Regions from separate parts of the Homo sapiens genome. Here region 2 is linked to region 1. Evidence: promoter capture Hi-C in 16 types of primary human blood cells and fetal thymus (Javierre and others, 2016). All regions are on one chromosome and are shown on one strand. Each heading gives the region's core, a stretch centred on a gene start or on the middle of the fragment in contact. The rest is flanking DNA. Distances are from core to core; before and after follow the strand shown. Region 1 holds the start of RBMX (RNA binding motif protein X-linked). Region 2 has its middle 35 kb from the start of MIR934.

The links. The method cuts DNA at HindIII sites, captures the fragments that hold promoters and counts their contacts. A CHiCAGO score of 5 or more calls a contact.
Region 2: a fragment that was not itself captured here is called in contact with the fragment with the promoter of RBMX in region 1 in 1 of 17 cell types (non-activated CD4 T cells); the score reaches 6.8 in non-activated CD4 T cells.

What each region holds. Positions count from the first base shown.
Region 1 is chrX:136,878,410-136,885,246 of GRCh38, forward strand. It overlaps RBMX (RNA binding motif protein X-linked), which reads right to left and starts at 2,316. Exons shown (of 9, transcript NM_002139.4): 1 at 2,188-2,316; 2 at 910-1,044; 3 at 608-714. The coding sequence starts at 1,018. It overlaps SNORD61 (small nucleolar RNA, C/D box 61), which reads right to left and starts at 862; the gene lies at 790-862. RefSeq lists enhancers at 1,241-1,840, 1,642-1,701, 1,712-2,171, 1,841-2,439. The HindIII fragment of the contact is 13,799 bases long and covers 1-6,837 here.
Region 2 is chrX:136,582,814-136,589,458 of GRCh38, forward strand. It overlaps the pseudogene RNU6-320P. Among named protein-coding and RNA genes, the nearest start is that of MIR934, 35 kb to the left of the region's middle. RefSeq lists enhancers at 3,590-3,719, 3,810-3,879, 5,322-5,381. The HindIII fragment of the contact is 1,696 bases long and covers 583-2,278 here.

The DNA of each region.
Region 1 (6,837 bases), core at 1,066-3,565:
ATCAAAATATGGCTTATGGATCTCAAGATAAAATGTATCATGTTGGCTGGGCGCAGTGGCTCGCAGTGTCTCACACCTGTAATCCCAGTACTTTGGGAGGCGGAGGCAGCTGGATCACCTGAAGTCAGGAGTTTGAGACCAGCCTGGCCAACATGGTGAAACCCTGTCTCTACTAAAAATACAAAGTTAGCCGGGCGTGGTCGCGCATGCCTGTAATCCCAGCTACTGGGGGGGGGGGGGGGGGCTGAGGCAGAAAAATCGCTTAGAACTCGGGAGACAGGCTGCAGTGGGCACTGCACCATTGCACTCCAGGCTAGGCAACGGAGGGAGACTATCAAAAAAAAAAAAAAAAAAGTACCATGTAATGCCATAATTATTCTGAACTGAGAGAATGTTACGAGCATAAGATATAACTCACTACTAGATTTGGTTCTGCAATTACAGAATACTCTTTGGAACAGGATCACAAACAGGATGAGTGGATCCCAGACAGGTATATACTGAAAAACAACGAAAACTCAAAAGCTGTCCTAGACCAGACTTGGACAACTACATGTTATTTTATGCACTAGTAACAGGTTATCATCCATCGTGTAGACAATCTCACCTTTCCATTCATGTCTCTGGCTGCATCCTTAGCGTCTGCTGGGCTTTCAAAGGTGACAAAAGCAAATCCTCTTGATTTGTTGGTTTCACGGTCTTTCATCAAGAGTACTAAAAAGTAGTTTTCAGAAAAATAAAGTGTTACCCTAGGTCAAATGAAATAACCAAAGTAAATGTGTAAACAGAAAGCTCAGAACTTCTTAGAGGACAAAAATACATTATCATGTCAGACGATCAATGCAATCAAATTCATCATAGCTTATATTTTAATTATAATAGCCCAGCCTGTACTGCCAGACAACTCACCTTCCACTATTCGTCCATATTTGCCAAATACTGCTTCAAGAGCTTTCTCATTTGTTTCCGTATTAAGCCCACCAATGAAGAGCTTTCCTGGGCGATCTGCTTCAACCATGTTTTTTTTTTTTTGGGCCGGTGAGTCTGTTGAAAAGGAATAGTATTACCTCACTGCAAAAAGTTCCTCAAGTTTATTGGACACTTTTACTTTCGCACATTTCTCATATTTTCCACTAAAACCATTGTTCCTTAATAACTAAAGAAAACGATAACGAGCTAAGCCTCAGCCACAGTAGGAAGCAATTTGAACTAAGTAGTTTAGTAACACTGCAATTTACATAAAACTGGTTAAAAGGGCCAACTTAACTTTTACCACTACCCTTGATCACCCTTAGCTGTTCTTAAGCAACAGCTGCTTAACATTTGAAAAAGCAACTTTTAGTTCCAGTCCTCTTGCCTTTGAAAGATTCAATTACTCATCACACCCTTCCTAACGATGGTTTTAAAAGACTCCCAAGGTCACAGGCTAGACACAGGACCTTAACACCAAGCCCTCTTCCAACGACTCCTCTTTTCCTCATTAGGATTCCCTACTAAATCCAAGGAGAAATGTGAAGTTTAAGCCAAGTTATGCCGCCCCTCTTCTTCACCGGCCCCCGCCCTACCGAAAATTCTACTATCCGGCCAAAAAGATAAAAACAAATCGTCAACATCGTTTGCTATTAAGTAACGGAACGCGGACGCACACACTAACACTCGACACTCCGTGACTGCAGCGGAACCTAATTAAAACTCGTCATTAAAAACCGCGTGTAAAAGACAAAATGGCGACACTTGGATTCAACCCAGAACCACCGACACTGGTCAGGGGACTAACTTTTACCACCAACATTGGCTGGGAACATTCAGAGGGCTTCTTCTCCGGGGCCGCCAATGAATACGAAGCCCGCAGCCCGCATGGAAGTCCACATGCCCATCATTAGCGCCAGCGCCATACCAATGCAGGTATCGCCGTGGTGCGGTCGCTCCTCGCCCCGCTCCAGCCTACAAAGCCCCGACCTCCGCTACCAACTCCCGCAGATGGCAGCCAAACTTTCTCGAGAAGCATACAACCAAACGGGCCCCCTCATTTGTTTTCCCTCGACCCCCTCAGCTTTATTTAAATAGGTCGGAACCTTTGGGTTCTTAAAATGGCGCCCGCCACCCCCATCTCCAGGGAGATATAATCCCCAGTCCTAACACGGGGAGAGTGTCACGAAAAACGGACTGAGGAAAGGAGACACGTACCGGAGGGGTGACAATGGGTTCAAGCTCCAACGAGCTCGGCGATAGGGGCTTCCTAGCAGCTCAGCACCAGTGGCGGCTGCCGGGTGCGAGGACCGAACCGCGAAGCCGCTAGCACTACTGCGCAACGAGGGCGAACAAAGGAGACAGCAAACTTTATACTGCCCGGGAACGAGGCTGAAGGACCCGGATGGAAACGGAGCTTAGAATTTGAAACGCAAAGGGAGGGGGGAAGTAGTTCCCAGTCTCCCCATTGGCTGGCTCCTCTGTCATTCACCCTTCTCTCCTCCCTTTTTCCCGGGCCCTCGGTGTTGGGTCGACAGACCTTTCTAACCGTTTTCTCTACCCCCACCCGTTCTTTACAAACGCGCTTTTTTTGCTTTACGCTAAAATGGTGCACAGGCTTCCTTTAATAAAGAACTGAAGTTTATTGAGCGTCCTAGTGGGCCGGGCACGGTGCAAAACTTTACTTTTACTTTTCCATTAACTCTTCTAATTGTCAAAATGTGATGAGGGTAGATACTCCTACTATACCAATTTTGCAGAAACGGAAAACAAAGAAGTTTTGGCAATATAATATATTTTCAAAAATTGTCTTTAACAAGTGTTTTTAGTGAGTGTGGGAATTTCTGATAAATACATGTAAATTTCAGATGAGTAAAAAACGTACAAAACAGCATGCAGATAGTACATTCATATAGAACAATTACTGAGCACCTTGTAAATGGTGGGCTCTGGGCTAGGCCAGGAAAATACAACTCCAGGGAAAAGACAAGAGTCAGGCCTGTGGGTAAGGATGCCGGATTTAATAAATGAAAATACCAGGCCGGGTGCAGTGGCTCACGCCTGTAATCCCAGCACTTTGGGAGGCCAAGGTCGGTGGATCACGAAGTCAGGAGATGGAGACCATCCTGGCTAACACGGTGAAACCCCGTCTCTTTTTAAAAATACAAAAAATTACCCAGGCGTGGTGGCACGCGCCTGTAGTCCCAGCTACTCGGGAGGCTGAGGCAGGAGAATCCGGGAGGCGGAGGTTGCAGTGAGCCAAGACTGCGCCACCGCACTCCAGCCTGGGCAGGCGACAGAGCGAGACTCCGTCTCAAAATAAAAAAGAAAATGCGGGACGCTAATTTATTCTGCGAAGCTGTTAAAAAATTTTAAATAAAAATATGGGACGCGGCCGGGGCGCGGTGGCTCATGCCTGTAATCCTAGCACTTTGGGAGGCCGAGGCGGGCAGATTGCCTGAGCTCAGGGGTTTGAGACCAGCCTGGGCAACATGGTGAAACCCCGTCTCTACTAAAATAAAAATAAAAAATAAAAAAATTAGCCGGGCGTGGCGGCGTGTGCCTGTAGTCCCAGCTACTCGGGAGGCTGAGGCAGGAGAATTGCTTGAACCCAGGAGGCGGCGGTTGCAGTGAGCCAAGATCATACCACTGCACTCCAGCCTGGCAACAGAGCGAGACTTCGTCTAAAAAAAAAAAAAGGGACGCCCAGTTAAGTTTAAATTTCAGATAACGAATACTTTTTTTAGTATAGTATGTCCCAAATCTCATATTTTAAAAATTCGCTGTTTATCGGAAATTCAAATTTAACTGAGCATTCTATATTTCATCTGCCCATCCTACTTGTTGAGGGGGGAAACCAAAAAATTTTTTAATTTTTTTCTTAAAGAAATTGAATACAATTAACAAAAGAATGGCATGTTGTGATTAATGCCAGGGAGGAAATAAACTAGTTGCTTTGATGGACAATATTAGGGAGAACAAATTTGATTAAAACATCAGGGAAGGTCTATGTGAAGAGGTGACTTTGGAGATCAGAGCTGAAGGAAGAAAAGAAACTAGCTATGGGAACAGCTGAGGGAAAAACCTTCAGGAAAAGAAGAGAATAGTAAACACAAAGTAGAGAGGAAGAGCTTGGCATATATCAAGGGACAGAAAGAGGGCCAGGTGACAAGAATATGAGGGGCATGAAATGAGGGAGCCAAGATTGGCAGGACCTTTGAGCCCATTAAATGACTGTAGGGGGTAAGTGTGGGAAAAAGGACACTAATAGGGCTGTGGGAGCAGACCAGAAAGAGAGGATGGTGGCTTGAATCAGGGTGGCGGCAGTGGACACGGGGAGGAAAGAACAATTGTTAGATGAATATGATAGGTATCGTGTTTAATGGTGCTATGGTCTAAATGTTTGTGTCCTCCCCCAAATTCATATGTTGAAATCCTAATACCCAAGGTGATGGCATTAGGAGGCGGGGATTTGGGGAGAAGATTAGGTCACAAAAGGGTAGGGTCCTCATGAATGGGATTAACACTTTTATAAAAGAGGCCCCTGTCCACCATGTGAGAACACAGTGAGGTGCCACTTATATGAACCAGAAAACTGGTGGTGGTGGGCCCTCACCAGACACTGAATATGCTGGCGTCTTTATCTTGGACTTCCCAGCCTACAAAAATGTGAGAAATAAATTTCTGTTGTTTATAAGCCAGCCAGTTTATGGTATTTTGTTATAGTAGCAGGAATGGACTAAGACAGATGGGAAAGGGGTGGGGAAGAATTGCGGAAAAAGAAAATCATTATGGATGACTCCAAGTATCTGGTATTAGTGGGACAGATGGTAACAGTCATTTACCAAAATGGTTTCAGAGGAGCAAGTTTGGGATATAGGGGCAGAAAAATCTGAAGCTCAGAGCATAGATCTGTGCTAAATTATCATCTCAGAGATGTAATAAAAGCCATCAGAATGAATGAAACCACCAAACAAGAGAGTACAGTGGGAAAAGAAGGCCCAAGATCACATAATATGAGCTATTAAAAAAATACATATGGAGACAAAATAACTGGGAGGAAATATGCCAAAATGTTACCAGTTTATCTTGGAGTGGTAGAATTTATGGACAATTTTCACTTTTCTTCTTCTTCTTCTCCTTTTTTTTTTGTTTGTTTTTTTGTTTTTTTGAGAAAGAGGTTCGCTCTCATTGCCCAGGCTAGAGTGCACTGGTGCGATCTTGGGTCACTGCAACCTCTGCCTCCCGGGTTCAAGCGATTCTCCCGTCTCCGCCTCCTGAGTAGCTGGGATTACAGGCATACGCCACCATGCCCGGCTAATTTTGTATTTTTAGTAGAGACAGAGTTTCACCATGTTGGCCAGGCTGGTCTCAAACTCCTGACCTCAGGTGATACGCCCGCCTCGCCCTCCCAAAGTGCTGAGATTACAGGCCTGAGCCACCGTGCCGGGCCTTTTCTTCTTCATAGTTACAATTACCTGCCCATGGTGAATTTTGGTATATGCCAGGCAGGTTGTAGTAAATAATATTCAGGTCACGGGTAAAAGCCCCCAAGGAGCTTCGAAACCAGCTCTGAATTATTAACATTAATAGGGGGAGTAATGCCCAGTAGGACAAGAATATTTGTTCTTGTTTTTTTTCCCCCAGCCAAATAATAAAAAGTAAGGCAAAACTCATGTCCATTTGCCTTTTGAATGAGTTCTGTAAATTATAGACTCTGGAGTCATTTGGGAACTGGCAAAAATGGCTTAAATACCAGGCTCAGCAAGCAGAACTTGTACTCCCAGAGGTAGCCAGGAGAAATCCCTCACCCTGTGGAAGCAGGCACTCTCTTTCTCTGTCTCAAATCCAAAGAGAGACTACAGGACTCTCCTCTAGGCTCTGAGTGTAAATCAGGTCTCCTCTAGTCTAGGGCAAAATGGGGCAGGCTCGACAATAGATAACCCTGTCCTCCTGGGTCTCAAAAAGGAAATGTGCATCCCCGTAGACCAGCTCACTTTGGCCTCTGCAGTTCACACCCAGGAATGTGGGGGAGGAGAAGTAGCATGCTGGCGGTGTTGGATGCAAACACAATTCCCAAGGACCAAAAGCGAGTGGGTGGGGTGGGGATGGCTAAGTTAAAGGAATTGTAGGAGGGGATCAGTTGGCCATATCGTCCAGGACAGAGAGGAAAAAGAAGCAGCTTGTGGGGGAAGCAGAGTGCTACTGACTAGATCTAGAGGGCAATGGAGAGGGGAGCCTTTTTTTTTTTTTTGAGACGGTGTTTCGCTCTTTCGACCAGGCTGGAGTGAAGTGGCGCAATCCCAGCTCACTGCAACCTCCGCCCCCCGGGTTCAAGCGATTCTCCTGTCTCAGCCTCCCAAGTAGCTGGGATTACAGGTGTCCACCACCATGCCAGGCTAATTTTTGTACTTTTAGTAGAGACGGGGTTTCGCCATGTTGGCCAGGCTGGTCTCGAACTCCTGACCTCAGGTGATCCACCCACCTCGGCCTCCCAAAGTGCTGGGATTACAGGCGTGAGCCACTGAGCCTGGCCGAGAGGGGAGCCTTTTTAAGAGGTGGAGTAAGGTAATCAGATTTCATCTTAATGAGATTACTGTGGTTGCAGTCTGGAGACTGTATTGGGGGAGGGAGAGACAGGAAGCAGGGAGACAAATCAGAAGGGTATTGCTGATGTAATGCAGGAGAGGGGGGACGTGGGCGTGCTGAGTGTGAGGGACTCTGGCCAACAGGCAGTTGGATAAGCAGGTCTCACACTGCCCAAAAGTAATTTCCGAATCCCATCCCTCCTCCTCATGGATCTTCTAGATTTTTCTCTTTGCCTCTTTCTATTTACTCTTTTATATTGTCATTAAATGTAGTTGCGTT
Region 2 (6,645 bases), core at 181-2,680, 300 kb before region 1:
AATGCATTACTCATGTTTGTGACACTAGTGTTAACAAGCTATTGCTCTGCCAGTCATATAAAAGACTAGCAATACAACTATGTATAGAACATATACTTGATAATGACAATAAACAACTATGTTACTGGTTTAGATATTTACTATACCATACCTTTTATCATTATTTTCAAGCGGACTCCTTCTACTTATTAAAAAAAACAGTTAAGTGTAAAACAAGCTCAGGCAGGTCCTTCAGGAAGTATTCCAGAAGAAAAAATTGTTAGCGTAGGAGATGACAGCTTCGTGAATGTTACTGTCCCTAAAGACCTTCCAGAGGGGAACAAGATGTGGAGATGGAAGACCATGATACTGATGATCCTGACCCTGTGTAGGCCTAGGCTAATGTGTGTGTTTGGTCTTAGAGTCTAACAAAAAAGTCTCAAAACTGCGCTTGCTTTGGCAGCCCATGTACTAAAACTGGAGTGATACAGAGAATAGTAACATGGCTCCTGTGCAAGAATGACACACAAATTGTGATGCGTTCCATTAAAAAAAACTAAAAATAAGTAAAAATAATAAAAAGTAAAAGTTTTAAAGTAGATAAGCTTAGAGAATAAGGATATACATGATGAAAATATTTTTGTACAGCTGTACAATTTGTGTTTAAGTGTTATTACAAAACAGTAAAACAGGTAAAAAAATTTAAGGTTTATAAAGTGAAAAAATTATAGTAAGCTAAGGTTAATTAGTTATTGAAGAAAGAAAAAAATTATGTATTTTTTGAGATGGAGTCTTGCTCTGTCACCCAAACTGGAGTGCAATGATGCAATCATGGCTCATTGTAGCCTTGAACTCCTGGTCTCAAGTGGTCCTCCCACCTCAGCCTCTCAAGTTGCTGGGACTACAGGTGTGTGCCTCCACACACAGCTAATTTTTAAATTTTTTGTAGAGATGATGTATTGCCATGTTGCCCAAGCTGGTCTGAAACTCCTGAACTTAAGCGATCCATCCACCTCAGCCTCCCAAAGTGTTGGGATTACAGGAGTGAGCCACCATGTCCAGCCAAGAAAAAATATTTTTTATAAATGTAGTGTAGCCTAAGTGTACAGTGTTTGTAAAGTCTACAGTAGCATGGAGTGATGTCCTAGACCTTCACATTTACTCACCACCCACTCACTGACTCAACCAGAGCAACTTCTACTATTGCAAGCTCCATTCGTGGTAAGCGCCTTATACAGGTGTATAATTTTTTAAATCTTTTATACTGTATTTTTACTGTGCCTTTTCTATATTTAGATATGTTCGATACATAAATACTTACCATTGTGTTCCCATTGCCTACAGTATTCAACATAGCAACATGCTGTTCAGGTTCGTAGCCTAGGAGCAATAGGCCACACCATATAGCCTGGGTGTGTAGTAGGCTATACCACCTATGTTTGTGTAAGTGCACTCTGTGCTGTTCACACAACAAAATCACCTAATGACACATTTTTCAGAATGTACCCTCATCATTATGCAACACATGACTGTGCTTCTTAGACTCCAAACATACTTCCCCTGACTTGGTTCTAGGGAGTCAACATTGTCAATGTTACAACTTCGTCTTAGAATGGTTTAGTGCTCCCCCCCACCTTCTTCTTATACCCAGGATCATAAAGGCTTCTTCAAGGGCATTTTGTTGGGCACGGAGCTGACCACCTCCATGTGTTTCCTTCCCTTCAGGCCTTACAGAGCTTATTCTCATTATTCCACCTCTATTTGCAACGGAGCCTGAAACCTATCCTTATTTGCAGTTTGCCATTTAAAAATCATCCCTTCTGGCTTTACTTTTTGCCCTGTTCTTTCTGTGTCCAAACTGAAAGTCCGAAGTGAGAGAAACTCATGCTACAGAGTAACTCGCTGGGGTTTGGTGTCAAATCTTAAAACGCCCACTTTCCAATCAAGGGTGACTAAATTATGAAGTAGCACTGCCCCCACCCCCTCCTTTTTAGCTCTTCACAATGCTTGCTATCACCTATTTTATAATTAGCAGTAGATTAGCATGAAAAAGATCTTCCTTCCTGAATTAGGCACTGCAAATATATTTTCTAACTTTTGACCTAAATTGCAGTCTGATTTAAAGTTTTGTTTGTTTGTTTACCAGTTTTCTAGAGAAATAAGAAAAAAAAATAAAGTTTTGTTTGTTTGCTTGCTTGCTTGCTTTTTTTATTCACTCAACAAATCCTTAGCACATTTTGAACAAAGCAGCTTGAAAGCAGAGTTAGGCTATTTCTGTACACAAATAGAAGAGCAACTAAGCTTGTGTTTTCACCAGTGGTCTTTTGCAGAAGATAAGGGTCAATAGCTATGAGGGACCAAGGCTCAAGTTTCACTTAAGGGAAACTGGATTCACTTCTCCAAGTGATACTGAAAGCTTGTATTCCAGGGTTAAGATTTACCAAATCAGGGACTCTCTTGTTTTCAGGGATAGTGCAGATTCTACATATCGGGTTTTTAGGGTGCACATGATGAATAGTTTGGAAACGTTTCTGCACCAGTTTATCACTGGCAAGACAGAGGTACCACTTGCAGTCCTCTTCCTGAGAAGGTTCCTCCCACAAGGCATCCCACTTCCTTTTCAAATTTTACTTATTTTGCTCATCAGCAATAAAATGAAAATGTGTCTTTCGCTCTCTATAATCATCTCCCCAACTCAGCAACTTAAGGTGCCTCTGTCACTTTGATTTATTCAAATGATTTGAAATGTCAACTTATTGAAGATCTGTAGAGGACCATGGGTAATGTCACCCACTGCCCTGAAAAGCCAACGAATTTTAACTCTCTGAACGGATGTCAGACAAGGGCAAAGCTGAGCCCATGGAATCACTTTTTGCCATGCTTCTCAATGGAGCAATTCAAGGTGACTTCGTCATGCCCATTGAGGAAGCCACATCTGCCAGTTTGTATGGCATCATATTGGCAAAAAGGAAAAATGGTCACTGAGAGGAGACTTTTCCCCACAAGTATGATTTCTTAGAGAGCCATGGCATTATTTTGGTGCTTAATGAAGTGAAACCTTTTTATCCCAGCTACAGTCCGGCCTTACTGGATTGGCAACAGCCCCAGCAAACTGACAATTTAAATGAGGGTGCCACTGCTTGAGGACTTTATGTGAGGCCTCATTAATTAGTCTATGAGGATGGTCTAACACGGTGCTTGGCACAGAGGTAGATAGCACTCGTGGCATATTAACCATTGCTATGATTATGAAAAGTTCATTTCTAGAGAGTTCCACCAGTAGTTAAGAGGTAGGCTTAGGGATTTGACCTCTAACACACTGTGACTATTCCTGTCATTCTATCCTGCTGGTGGCTGGCCTGGTGCTCTAGGGTAGTCAAAACCATTTTAAGAAACCGCAGAGAAATGTTAAATTCTCCTGTTGTGCTGGAATTCAGTGAATGCCAATGGATCTTAAAATAATTGGGTCAGTGTCTGAGGCTTAGAAAGGCAAGAATTCTCTTTTGCCACATGGGATTTTGTGTGAATTTGGCATTAATATCAGACCTGTGCTATCTTGGCTTGCTTCTTTAGGAAGTAAGCTGGTGCTAACCCCTCAAGGAAAGGATAAAACACTTAGCAGAGCCTTGTTTGTTTCTCAGTAGGGAGTGGCACACTAGCTTAACATGTAGGAAGTTGGCAATAAAGTACTATGTATGACGGAGATCTGACCTCGTTCTTAGCTGAGGTTGGTATGGCTTCCTCTAGAGCATTTGCCAAGTGGCCTTTGTGGTTAAACAGCACACTGAACTTTCTCTTAACTCCTTTTAAAGTGAGGACAAAAGGATGGATATGCCTGGCTGCCGCCAATGAACATTACACAGTGCCTCCTCTGTGTTAGGTGTTGGAGGTGCCATGAGCAGCACAGTCCCAGTCCCAGTTCTCAAGTTCACAGTCTAGTCAGAGATACAAACAGTGATGCACTGGAGCCCATTGCTACTGATTCATGAGAGTTGATAGATGTTTAGAAATTTTTGCCAGTCAGTCGTTAAACACAAACTTATTAAAAATAAAATTCTATAAGCCTGCAATTAAAATACATTTCAAACAAAGGTAAGAAACACTCAAAATGTATCACTTCCTAATTATTTTACTGCCATTGCTTATTATATATGCTCTTGAGGTGATCTATAGCTATTGTAGCAGTCTGATGGAAATGCTGTATAATGCTGTACTACTGGGCATTTCTACCCAAATCAATGTGTAGCCTCACGTCGGTAGCTTGAAATTGGTCATGGTGGGAATATTTACACAGTGGAAATTGGCAATCACTATAAACTTGGAATGTTTTCTTTTTTCCTTTCATAAAATCAGTTATTAAACATTTATTAGCACACCTGGAGACATTCTAGCAAATAGATTACAGTAAATCCAGTGGGCCCCATGGCTGTGGGATTATAGCCCATGGTAGGAGAACATGGGAAAGTGTTGTGAAAGGCTTCACACAGGAGGCAGGTGCTTGAAGCAAAGCTCTGAAAGATAATTAGGAGTGAAGGCCCAGAGGCAAGATAGGGCAGAATTGATCGAATGAAAAAGATGTGGGTTTTGCTCTCAGGGGCTCTCAGTTAAAAGGAAACAGGAGAAAGGGAGTGAAGGGTCAAGTGCTCTGTGGGGTCTACTGGGACTGCTGTAGGGGCACAGAGGAGGGCACAGGGCTGGTGGGGGTAGAGTAAGGCTTCCTGGAGGAGGTGATGTGGCATCTTACCACGGAGATCAAAAGAGAACTAGGAGTAGCCACCGTTCCTGGAATGGAGGTAGAAAAGTAATGTCTTCTTATATATTAAAATATATTGCCAATACAATCAGCATAGAAGAGTAATCAATGTTTTAAAAATGTATTCTCAAGAAATGCTTCACTCTTGAGATTGTGCAATCCTTGAAATATTGCCTTGTGAGTGGGGATCTTAGTTTCTAGTGCAGCCTCCCACCTATCACGGGGCTTTGCTTATAATAGCCCTGGCTGAGGGCTTTGAAGTTCTGCCTGAATACTACAGGTGTTGGGGGAGAAGGGAATTGAGTGCATTTGTTAAATTCTGAACTAAATGGGAATAAAGACCTCATTTGGGGAGATAATTATTAAATCCTATATTCAGAAGTCTGGTGTTTGCTAAGCCCTTCAGTTTCATGGACAAAGCATAAACAATATTCCCTTTTCAACACCACAAATTAACTTTTCCAAGAAAAATTGGCTGTGAGATAAGGATAGATTATATTCTGGTATGTGTATGAGGAATGGGGACTTTGAACTGCTCTCAAGTCCCTAACTACAGAAAATCTAAGAAATGATGTTGTCTCACTTTGGTAAAATAACATCTGGGGAAAATACCTACTTTCTCTTTGCATTTAGTGCCTCATTAAAAAAAAAAACAAAAAAAAAAACAAAACTAAAGGTCAGATTAGCAACCTAAAAATGAAACTAGAATGGAGGTGAGGAAAGAAGTAGTGTAACATTTTACCCTGAGGCTGAGAAGAGGGAGCAGATCTAGTTGTGCAAGCACTCAGAGTCTGAAACGTAGGCCCTTAGTGTTACAAACAGGATGAATGCCTTGGCAAATAAACTCTTGAAAAGAAACCTGTGCTAAGATTTCCCAGAGACTCTGAGTTTTCTTTAATCCTTTACATCCTTCTTTTTGTTACAAAAATAAATTTATTTATTATTTATTTATTTATTTATTTGGACAGGGTCTTGCTCTGTCGCCCAGGTTGGAGTGCAGTGGTGAATCACAGCACACTGCAGCCTTGACCTCCAGGGCTTAAGCAATCCTCCCACCTCAGCCTCCTGAGTAGCTGAGACCACGGACACACACCACCATGCCTGGCTAATTTTGTCATTTTTTTGTAGAGACAGAGTTCTCTCCATGTTGCCCAAGCTGGTCTCAAACTCCTAGGCTCAAGAAATCCTCCCACCTCAGGCTCCCAAAGCGCTGGGATAACAGGCATGAGCCACTGCATCCGGCAAATTCTTCTTAACTTTCTTGTTTGCAAGAAATAGAAACCCATTCAGCTAGTTCAGATAAAGGATGGGTGGGAAAATGAAATTAATTCAGAAATATTAACTGACACTCACTATGTGCCGGGTTCTGAGCTAGGAGTCCCTGGTAAGCAGTGACTAAGATGGACACAGTCCCTGTCCTCACAGAGCGTACCATCTAGGAGGAAAAAAAGCACTAAACTAACAATTACACAGTTTGGGTGTTGTTGTTGTTGTTTCTGAGACAGGGTCTTGCTCTATTACCCAGTCTGAAGTGCAGTAGCGCAATCTTGGGTCATTGCAACCTCCGCCACTGGGGTTCAAGCAATCCTCTTGCCTCAGCCTCCTGAGTAGCTGGAATTACAGGCATGTGCCACCACACCACACTAATTTTTGTTTCTGTTTTGTTTTGTTTTTTAGTAAAGATGGGGTTTCACCATGTTGGCCAGGCTCGTCTCAAACTCCTGACTTGAAATGATCCGCCCACCTCAGTCTCCCAAAGTTCTGGGATTACAGGCATGAGCCACTACGCCCAGCCTATTTGTTATTTAATTATAAGCACGATGTGCACTCTGAGGGAAAGGAGTGAGGGGTCGTGAGAGCCCATGGAGCTCCAACCTAATAGGGCTGGATGAAAGGCCAGAGGAGGCTTCACT